3 separate regions of the Homo sapiens genome follow, and all the other regions are linked to region 3. The links are contacts of gene promoters, found by promoter capture Hi-C in blood cells and fetal thymus (Javierre and others, 2016). All regions are on one chromosome and are shown on one strand. The core of a region is centred on a gene start or on the middle of the fragment in contact, and the rest is flanking DNA. Distances in the headings are between cores, read along the strand shown. Region 1 holds the start of PHPT1 (phosphohistidine phosphatase 1). Region 2 holds the start of ANAPC2 (anaphase promoting complex subunit 2). Region 3 holds the start of ENTPD2 (ectonucleoside triphosphate diphosphohydrolase 2).

Region 1 (3,353 bases), core at 816-3,315, 200 kb after region 3:
GAGTCAACGTGAGCCTGTGGGGTAGATGCAGCTGTGCGACCTGACCCTGGATACTGGTAGGCCCCATGGGGCTGGTCATGGAAGGAGCCTGCAGGTCACGGAAGGAGCCTCAGGGCAGACAGGACACTGGGGAGCCCTGGGATGGGCTCATAGGAGGGAGCACTGGTGGGCGCCCCAGGTCTTGGCCAGCCCGAGGGACCAGGCCCTGACTCCTCTCGCAAGGGCTTGCCAGACCTCCTCCAAGATGCCCTGGAGGACGATGGCCGTGGGAAGAGCAGTCAGGCCATCAGCGGGCCCCTTTATCAGACCCCAAAGGGCTGAGTGTGCACCGCCACTCCCTGGGGCCACTCCTGTGTTCCCCCACCCACCTGCTTTAGTTAGGGTCTGGGGGCCCCCGGAGGTGGTGACGCAGGGTGCAGGAAGCCAAGGACAGAGTTCAGAAGCCGGCAGGTGTGGCAACACGTTTAATTCTGTGGCCAGGCTAGCCTGTCTCCAAGGCCTGGTGGACAGCACGTCACCAGAGGCTGCCGCAGGAGCAGGCAGGGCCAGCCCTGCAAGAGGAGTGCAGGCAAAGGCGGGGGCTCTGAAGTGGCTGCTGGAGGCAGCAGGCCCCGGGCTGGGAGTGCTCAGTAGCCGTCGTTAGCCCAGGTGACCTCGTAGTCGGGGTACTTGGCTTTGATTTTCTCAGTTGAAATGGCGTGCTGGGCAGGACCATAGGCCTGGAGAAGAGAAGACGCCTGCTGGCACTACCTGGACCCTTCAACCCGATACCCGGCTCTGGGCATCCAGCCACCAGCCACACCAGAAGCGAGTGTGGGAAAGGGATAGGCAGTGCCTGGGGATGCCAAACCCACCATCCCGACCGCCCTTGGGGGCTCCCCTGGGGAGAGGCGACCTCCACAGGCAAGCAAACCTTGATGGTGGATCCTGGGGCCTGAGGCGCCCAGAGGGACGCACGTGGGTCTCATCTGCTGGTGGTTTTTGTGAAGAGCACAGGTGGGGACTCTGAGCTCCACCCAGGTACTGACTGCCTCTGGGGGCCCAGGGCCCAAAGTGCTGGAGGACAGCTAGAGCCCAGCAAGGCCTCCCAAGGCAGGGAGAGGAGACAGCCGGCCATGTCTGGGGGTGTCCGTCCCACCCCTCAGGTCTGGCGTGTGCTCCATGGGGGAATGCAGGAACACAATGGGCCCTGGAGGGAGGGCTCTGCCGCCGACCCTGGGAGAACCCCAGGAAGCCTGCGTGCTCAGCTGGGGCCACGGGTCAGGGCAGCAGGCTCAGGTGGGCCTCGAAGCTGGTACTGGGGCCTCCGGCAGGGCGGGACGGGGCTGCGGCTCACCATGGAATAGCCGTACACGTGAATCTTCTTGTCCTGACTCTGGTGGGAGATGCGCCCGCCGCCCAGACACTCACAGTCGCAGCCTTGCTTCTGCATGTCGCCCGACACTTTGTCGTAGATGTCCGCTGGGATGGGAGGGCGGCCTCAGGACGTGCCCTGGCCGCCCTTGGAGGCCGCGGGAGGAACTCCCAGCCGAAGGGGTCTGAAATCCCAGCTCTGAACAGCCCCTTCCCCAGGAGAGACGAAGCCCCTTGAGGCTGGGACAGGGATGAATGAGCGAAGGAGGGTGGAACCGGGGAGGGCGCGGGAACTGGGAGACTGCTGGGGAGGGTGTCAGGCCGTGTCACGCCCTTCCCGCCCAGGACCTCAGCCTGGGTCAAACCTAGCAGGGGCAGGACTCGGAGCAGAGCGCAGTCCGCTACGGCCCGCAGCCCCGCCCCCGCCCCGCCAGCCCCGCCCCTGCCTCGTCAGCCCCGTCTCCGTCCCGCCAGCCCCGCCCCCGCCTCGCCAGGCGTGCCCCTGGCATGCCCGCAGGTCCCGCCCTCACCATGGTACTCAGCCCACTTGTAGCCGCGCACGATCTCCTTGCTCTCTGCAGCCGGAGCCCCGGAGCGGGGAGCCGAGTGGACTCGGATCAGCACATACTTGAAGACGCCGTCGGAGTCGATGTCCACATCAGGAATGAGAGCGAGGTCCGCCACCGCCATGTTCCTCCTCCCGGAGTCCCCTCCTCCCACCCGACCCGGGGGCCGCTTGTACTGCGGGAGGCGGGCTCTGCGAGAGCGACGACCAATCCCGTCGGGGAATGCTTCCCAAGGCCCAGCGCCTCAGCCAATTGTACCGCCGACCGAGGCACGTGCTGACCAATCGCAATCCAGTTCCTTGCCGCCTTGCGGCTCCGCCAGCCCCGCTTAAAGGAAACGTGGAATCGGGAATGGGTGGTGATGAAATCCAGCCAACGGAGAAGTTCCTCTCCAGCGGGGTCCGGTGGCACCCTTGGAACGGGGCAGTTAGGCGGCCCGCGAGGCTGGGGCAACGAGGGAGGCCTGAGGGACTTGCCAGCCCTGACCTCCTGTCCCGCACGTAGTCCGAAGACCACCCTCCCCGTGGCCCCCACCGCCCAAAGGCCTCCCTCTCTCCCCCTCCCACCGCCCGAAGGCCTCCCCCCTCCCCGCTCTCCACCGCCCGAAGGCCTCGCTCTCCACCCCCTCCACCGCCCGAAGGACTCCCTCTCTTCCCCGTCCACCGCCCGAAGGCCTCTCCCTTTCTCCTCTCCACCGACCGAAGGCTTCCGTCCCCAACCCCGCTACCGGTACAAGGAGGCAACGGCAGCCGCTACATTCAAGTTCTATTTTACTTGGTTCGAAAGCTCTTGCCCCCTGGAAATTATTCCGGTCCAGGGGCGTTCCCGGCCGGCCCTCAGGGGTGGGGCCGAATGCAGAGGCCCTGGGGTAGGGGGCGCGGGGCGCGGCGGCGGGTGGGCAAGCGGGACGCCTGGCCGGTGCAGACGCGCGGGGACGAGATGGGCGTGCCGGGTGCGAAAGCAGGAGCGGAGGCGGGGGTGCCCAATTTCTCTCACTTGGTGCCCCCTCCCCTGGCTCCGAAGTAGGGCTGGGGACTCCAGGAGGGCCCTTGCGTTTGGCCTCCACCCCTCTCCCGCATACCCCACCCTCCAGAGAGCTCTGGGCGCGGACCAGGGTGCACTTGGGGGACAGGTGGAGGCCGGGCCGCCGGGCTTGCGCCTCCACGCCCGCAGTACGGCGTGCGGCCAGAGCGGGTGTGCGGGGACCTCTCGGGACAGGTCAAGCCCCCTCGGGTGGGCTTCCACGCTTACCAACTAGCTCTCTCCCTCACCTGCTCGCACCACGCTTTGCCCTCCAGGCTCCCACCTGGGAACGCCCCGTCCCTTGGTCCTTCCTCTCCTAGCCAGGTGTCAGCTCTGGCCAGGCCCAGGTGCTCTGCTTCCCCTGTTCAGGTCCCCTGCCCCTTCGGCTGGGAGACTTGCATATCGGCCTGA
Region 2 (3,267 bases), core at 616-3,115, 130 kb before region 3:
GCAGGTGTCTGGCAGCCCCATGCTGTTGATACGGGCAAGCAGCAGGCTGGCACGGATCTTTACAAAGATAATCTTTATTCATAATCACAGGCCACAGGGGTGAGACCTGAGGTTTGGGTTCTGTGGTGAAGGAGAACCCCTGTCCTCCTGTCCCTTGCCCTGGGCCTCTGCTGGCTGAGGAGGGACAAGGTGAGGGGGCCCCCATGGTGCTCAGACAACCAGAGCCTCCCTGGCAGGGCAGGAGTGTGGGTGCCACAGAGACAAGCCCCTTGCAGAGCTGACCTGGAGCCCACCATCCCCATAGCCTGTGTGAGCATGAAGCGAGGACCCCCGGGTGGGCTGTGCCCTGGGCTTGTCACTGATGCCAGTGGAGGCTGGCACCTGCCCCTCTCGGCACCTGAGACAGTGAGGGAAGGTAGCTGCTGCCGTGAAGAACAAAGATGCTCTGAGCACACACTTGCTGGGGCTGAGCTGAGGGGCACACGGAGGCAGGCCCTGCCCGTGGTCTGGTCAGCTGTCCCTGCCGCCGCTACTTTTCTGGTCTGGGGCTGTAGCCTTGGTCAGGTTCCCAGCTTCCCTCTTGAGAACGCTGAGCAAAGTCTGGGAGCTCTCCAGGATCTGGGGCCAGAGAAGTGAGAAGGTTGTTAATGTTCACCTGTTGGTAAGGTCCTAAGCCCCAGCTGTCCTCACACTCAGGTGCTGGGACCTGGCTGGGGGTGCTGTAGCCAAGGGATCCTGTGTGGGGGAAGGCGGAAGCCCAAGGGGACTGGCAGACGGGGTGGCAGGGCCCTCTTCCCTCCGGAATCTGACCCAAAACACTTCCTCTCCACCCTCAAAGCCAGGCTGGGTTAGCACTGGCCCGTGCTGGGTGCTCTGCCCAAGACCTGGCTCTTCACACTGAGCAGAAATAACCACATGGCTAGCGAGAACCGGATAAAGACCAGGACCCAGGATGCCCCAGGCCCCACAGACAGCCCCACAGTCACTCCCACAGCAGCCTGGGTTCCTCAATGGGCCTGGCCACGCTGCCCCTGCCCGAAATGCCAGCGAGGCACAGACTGCCCACAGCCGGGAGCCCCAGCCGGTCCTGACGCCTTGCCGTGGCAACACCCCTGCCGTGCCTATCCCCTGATGCTCGGCCTGGCCTCCCGAGCTCCACCTTGAGGTAGGCGGCCTCCGTCTCCGCGATGGTCCGGTCGAACTCGTTGCGAGAGGCAATCTTGCGTGCCAGGTTCTCGTTGACGCGGGCCAGCTTCTCTGTCAGCTGCCTCACCTCATTCTGCAGCCGCTGCTTCTCGTCCTCCTCCTCCTGGATCTGCCGGCACAGCTCCTCCCGCTTCTGGCACAGCTCCTCTATGCCTGGGGGCCGGGAGGGGCGGCGCTGTGGGCCCAGGGCAGGAGCGCGGCGGCGGAGGGCGGGCCTCCTTCCACCCGAGGAAGCCAGAGTCAGGCACCACCCCCGAGCGCCCGGCGCGGGGCCTGCGAGCCAGCGAGGGCTCGGGCCACGGACACCCGGCCTCCGGCACGGAGGGCTCTGCTCAGCCGCGCGATGCCCGCAGCGAGGCGGGTCCAGGGGCACCCCGCTGCGAGCCGGGAACCCGGCCCTGCGGCCCTCCCGACCTCCCCGTCCCGGCTGCGCCGCTCACACTTGACCAGCTCGTTGTTGTAGTTCTGCAGCGCCGCGCCCTGCTGGGTCATGGTCAACGCCGCCCGGGGCCCCACCACCCCAACCGCCGCGGAAGCAGCGCTGTCCGCGCCTGCGCACGACTCCCCCACGGCGCGCCGAACTAGCGCGTCATCGCTGAGCGCCTTGTGCGCGTCATGGCTGCGCGTGCAGACGTGCGTCATCGCCGCGCGCCGCGCCGAGCGAATCTCGGAGTCGGTGGGTGCAGATGGCGGCGGCAGTTGTGGTGGCGGAGGGGGACAGCGACTCCCGGCCCGGACAGGAGTTGTTAGTGGCCTGGAACACCGTGAGCACCGGCCTGGTGCCGCCGGCTGCGCTGGGGCTGGTGAGGCCTGGGAAGAGAGGGGCGGCCCCGCGCGGAGTTTCCGGGACCGTACGCGCTTTGGGGCCGCTACCCTCGGGTTCATACGGCTCTGTCCATCATCCGCCTCTGTCCTGTCCTGCCATTTTCCACCACCTTTCCGTTTCGTTTCGTTCAGCTCCGCTGACAGCCCTTCCATAGCTTCGGCCCAACGTCCGGGCAGCACGGACAGGGGGCAGCGGAGTTTTTGCAGCCTCCCCCTCAGCTTCTTCCCTTCCCCGCCTCTCCCCACCTCTATGTTGTGTTCCCCTCGCCTCACGGTTTTCTGCACCCCAGGTGTCTTCCCGGACCAGCGGTGCAGTCCCGCCAAAGGAAGAGGAGCTCCGGGCGGCGGTGGAGGTTCTGAGGGGCCACGGGCTACACTCGGTCCTGGAGGAGTGGTTCGTGGAGGTGCTGCAGAACGATCTGCAGGCCAACATCTCCCCTGAGTTCTGGAATGCCATCTCCCAATGCGAGAACTCTGCGGATGAGCCCCAGTGCCTTTTGCTACTCCTTGACGCTTTTGGCCTGCTGGAGAGCCGCCTGGATCCCTACCTGCGTAGCCTAGAGCTGCTGGAGAAATGGACTCGCCTGGGCTTGCTGATGGGCACTGGTGCTCAGGGGCTGCGAGAAGAAGTCCACACTATGTTGCGCGGAGTCTTGTTCTTTAGCACCCCCAGAACCTTCCAAGAGATGATCCAGCGTCTGTATGGGTGCTTCTTGAGAGTCTATATGCAGAGTAAGAGGAAGGGGGAAGGGGGCACAGACCCGGAACTGGAAGGGGAGCTGGACAGCCGGTATGCCCGTCGCCGGTACTACCGGCTCCTGCAGAGCCCGCTGTGTGCAGGGTGCAGCAGTGACAAGCAACAGTGCTGGTGTCGCCAGGCTCTGGAGCAGTTCCATCAGCTCAGCCAGGTCTTGTGAGTAGTCTGTCCCGATGGCCATGCCCTTGCTCCTTCTGGTTCCCCGCTGCTCCCCTGGGTCCAGCTGGCCTCAGCAGAAAGCTGGTGAGCCGTCCTGATAACCAGGAACATGACAGAGAGAGAGTCCCAGGGATTCCTGTGCAGCGTGTCCTGGACACAGGTGTCTCTCTTCTGTCACTCACCTTCAGTCCCACAGATTCATGCCTTGACCCTGGTAAGGCCCTATGTGGCTTGTGTCTGCAGCAGCAAATTTCTTAGCAACTCCAAACTTCCTGGACTCTGCAGAATTCCACTGTGCCTTTTGTCGATCCTGGGGAGGA
Region 3 (3,180 bases), core at 681-3,180:
CTCCTGCCAGCTTCCCTCTGACGCTCTCCCAAGTCTGCCTTCCAGGGTCCCTGAGTCCATGCCAGGAAGGGGCGTTCCCCCGCCCTCACTCCGTCTCAAAGAGAGCTCAGCCTCAGCCTTTGTCCTGGCCGCTCTGGGCTCCCTGCCTCTCCCTCCGCAGGCGAAGCTGGGCACTCGGCCATGAGCCTGTCTCCCCGGGGCAGAGTCCAGCTCCCCTCTCCCTCCCCATCCTCTCAGGCCTGGCAGACCTCCCACTCCCTGGCTTGAGCTTTTTGTCCATGAAAAGAGTCCAGAACACCAGGAAGCCCCGCTGGGCCTGGAGGGAAGCGGGGTACCGCAGGCCAGTGGGGGTCGCAGCACCCTGCCTCTGGGCGGCCTTTGTTCCTTCCTTTTCAGGCATGATGTGCACTGTGCGTGCCTCTCCCTCCTCTGGGCGGTCAGGGGTGGAAGAAAGGCCTGGGGTGTGTGGGGGGAAACTGGGGCCTGGGGCCTGGAGCTTAGCACCGGCAACACCCAGAGATTGCCTGCTGGAGCCCCGCCAGGCTGGGCTGTGAGGCTGAGGCAGCAGAGAGGCTTCCCAGGGTTCCCACCCCTCCCTTTGGGGTCCTGAGCTGGAAGAAAGATGCCTTTACTGGGCCTGTGGCGCCAGACCCTCAGCCCAGGCAGCAATCCCAGCACAATTGTCACTGCCCGTTCCAGAAGGCCGGGCATGGTCTGGACCCTGCCCCATGGGGCTGCCCTTTGGGCCCCAGCAGCCTGCACTCCCTGGTGGCCTTGCCTCGTGGCTCCCTGACGCTGTGTGGCTGGAATTATTGGGACAAGAATTCCCACTTTGCAGCAGGCGCAAAGGGGGTGGCCCCTGGCCGGGCTGGGATGCGGGGCCTGTGAGGCTGCAGAGCCGAAAGGCCAGCCATGTCGTGGGACGGAGGAGCAGGGCTTGCGTCTGGGGCCAGCTGCGCTTCGCCTGCCCCAGCCGTCCCCAGAAGCCTGTTGCTGACCCGCACCCCAAGCTTGGCCTGGGGACCCTCTTCCTTGCCTTTCAGGCCACGTAGAGGCCCCACCTGTTTCCGTCCTGGGGAAGCCTCCTCTGGCCTCCGCAGCCCAAGCCTCTGTTCCCCTCAGGCCGAGGGGGCAGCAGGCGCGGCTGAGGCCCTGGGCTGGGAGGTATGGACCTTTGGCCCGGTCTGTGCTGCTTCTCCTGTTTCTCGGCTCGGTGTGACCTGGGCCGTCCCTCCCCTTCCCCGTTCCTGCGTCCTCACCTTCACCTCAGTACAGGGCCCAGGTGAGGTGGATCTGACTGGGCCTCAAGGGTAGTTCTGGCCTGGGTCAGCTGCGTGTCTCTGGAGCTGACCTGCGCTGGCTCAGCGCCGCAGGCTGGCGGATCCTTGCTGGCCGGGAGGGCATCCCGCAGGCCAGCCTGGTCCTCACCAGCCCTGGGAGTTGGCGCTCAGGGCCCTGCTCCACAAACAGGTGCTGACCCTCGGCTTCCTCCTGAGTCCCCAGCCCGGGCCCCGCGTGGCTCCGCAGCCGACAGTGCCTCATTCCTGCAAGCGAGTCTGGCCTCCTTTCCCGGGCCCGGGAAAAGCGCGGCTCTCCAGCACAGGACCCTCCGAGCCAGCCTCGCCCGCCCACCCCCACGCCAGGTCTCCTGCCTCCACGGCCGGGGGATCCCCTTGCTGAGTGGGCGGGAAGGGGAAGGTGGGCCATAGCCGCGGGGCGCCCGGGCTCAGACCCGGGAGCCGGGGGGCGGTGCTGGTGACTCAGCCGCGCCCGCGTCTCTCACCTGCGCGGGCCGGACGGCGGAAGCTTGGGAGCGGAGGCGAAACCTGTCCGCCCGTGGGCGTGGCCGGTGATGGGCGGGCCCGCCCGGCCTCCCGCCCCTCGTCCCGCCCCGGGGCCCCTACCCCGCGGTCCCGCGGCCCCGCCCGCCTCCGCCTCCGGCTCCCCGCACTCTCCGGGTCCACGCATCGTCCTCCCGCGCGCCCGCCCGCCCATGGCCGGGAAGGTGCGGTCACTGCTGCCGCCGCTGCTGCTGGCCGCCGCGGGCCTCGCCGGCCTCCTACTGCTGTGCGTCCCCACCCGCGACGTCCGGGAGCCGCCCGCCCTCAAGGTGCGCGCCCGGGCACCCAGCGCACGTCTGGGGAGCAGCGGGCCGGGCTTGGAGCCGGGGAGGGGGTGCGGCTGGGAACCTGAGCAGGATCAGCCCGGGACCCCCACCGTGCTCTGCTCCTGGCGGGCTGGGTGGGGTCCCGGGTTCCGCGCTCTGCGCTCCCCGACCGGGTACGCGGAGGGGGCGGGGGGCGGTGGCGCTTCCAGGGCGACGCGGTGCTGAAGGAACAAGTCCCGGGAGTTCCGCGCCCGCCGCCGAGTCCGTCAACGCAGCCCAGGGGCTGTGTCCCCGCTCCCGGGATAGCCCAGCGATGCCCCCTGGGTGCTGCCGGACGCCCGCCCCCAGGCCTGTGCGGGCCCCCAGGGGCACTCCGGGCCACTTCTGCCCTGTGCCGCCGCCCCGGAGGGTGCGGTTAGAGCCACATCGACTGGGTATTCAGCCCAGATGGGGATCCACAAGCCCCAGGACCCAGGGCCCCCGCCAGGACACGAGAGTGGCCCAGAAAGACAGGAGGGCTTGACCGGAGCAGCCCTGGCCGGTCCTCAAAAGGTTGGAGCAGGCTAGCCTGGATCTCCACTCCAGCAGGCCCAGGGACCTCCTGGTCGGCCCCTTTAACCCTTTATTGGGCTTGTAGGGGGGTGGGGTGGAGAGCCAAGTCCCCCAGCCTGATGGGGAGTCAGAAGCAGGGAGCTCTGCGGCCCTGCAGGACGGCCATGTGGCGGTGCACGCGCTGACCTGTTGATGCTCTGGGCTCTGGGGAAGCCTTGGTCGGGATGGACTGGTGCGGCCCTCTCGGAGGCTGGAATTGGCGCCCGGGCCTGGGAGGCTGGTCCCCAGCTTTCCAGGTGGATCCAGGATGCTGGGGCAGGAGCTGGAAAAGGGCATTTACAAGCTCGTGCCACTCAGGTCTGCAGGAAGGCCCACCCAGCACCCCCAACAAGGCAGGGCCAGCCTCTCTCTCTGGCCCTGGCTTGGAGGCCTAGGGAGAGTGTCTTTAGAGCTGACCTGGCTCTGAGGCCCACGGCCAGCCTCGGTGGACCTTCTTCACCTGGGGCCCTGCCTCCTGCATC

Evidence for each region. Contacts are between HindIII fragments. The CHiCAGO score rates a contact against its expected background, and 5 or more counts as called.
Region 1: a contact is called between the fragment with the promoter of PHPT1 here and the fragment with the promoter of ENTPD2 in region 3, in 3 of 17 cell types (naive B cells, M1 macrophages and non-activated CD4 T cells). The highest score is 5.0, in naive B cells.
Region 2: the fragment with the promoter of ANAPC2 here is called in contact with the fragment with the promoter of ENTPD2 in region 3 in 1 of 17 cell types (naive B cells); the score reaches 6.6 in naive B cells.

Annotation. Positions count from the first base shown.
Region 1 is chr9:136,848,121-136,851,473 of GRCh38, reverse strand. It overlaps PHPT1 (phosphohistidine phosphatase 1), which reads right to left and starts at 2,065. Exons shown (of 3, transcript NM_014172.6): 1 at 1,884-2,065; 2 at 1,337-1,461; 3 at 450-719. The coding sequence starts at 2,043. The coding sequence ends at 627. AJM1 (apical junction component 1 homolog) reads right to left here. Exons shown (of 3, transcript NM_001080482.5): 3 at 2,673-3,353. RefSeq lists silencers at 1,744-1,823, 2,214-2,273, 2,454-2,533, 2,614-2,673, 2,894-3,123 and an enhancer at 1,814-2,093. The HindIII fragment of the contact is 15,345 bases long and covers 1-3,353 here.
Region 2 is chr9:137,187,158-137,190,424 of GRCh38, reverse strand. ANAPC2 (anaphase promoting complex subunit 2) reads left to right here and starts at 1,865. Exons shown (of 13, transcript NM_013366.4): 1 at 1,865-2,009; 2 at 2,322-2,944. The coding sequence starts at 1,893. SSNA1 (SS nuclear autoantigen 1) reads right to left here and starts at 1,749. Exons shown (of 3, transcript NM_003731.3): 1 at 1,647-1,749; 2 at 1,160-1,359; 3 at 59-618. The coding sequence starts at 1,698. The coding sequence ends at 511. RefSeq lists a silencer at 1,358-1,707 and an enhancer at 1,738-1,957. The HindIII fragment of the contact is 11,278 bases long and covers 1-3,267 here.
Region 3 is chr9:137,052,811-137,055,990 of GRCh38, reverse strand. It overlaps ENTPD2 (ectonucleoside triphosphate diphosphohydrolase 2), which reads left to right and starts at 1,930. Exons shown (of 9, transcript NM_203468.3): 1 at 1,930-2,110. The coding sequence starts at 1,994. LOC105376327 (a long non-coding RNA gene) reads right to left here. Exons shown (of 2, transcript XR_930455.2): 1 at 3,116-3,180; 2 at 2,616-2,981. RefSeq lists silencers at 1,695-1,774, 1,875-1,944. The HindIII fragment of the contact is 4,509 bases long and covers 1,809-3,180 here.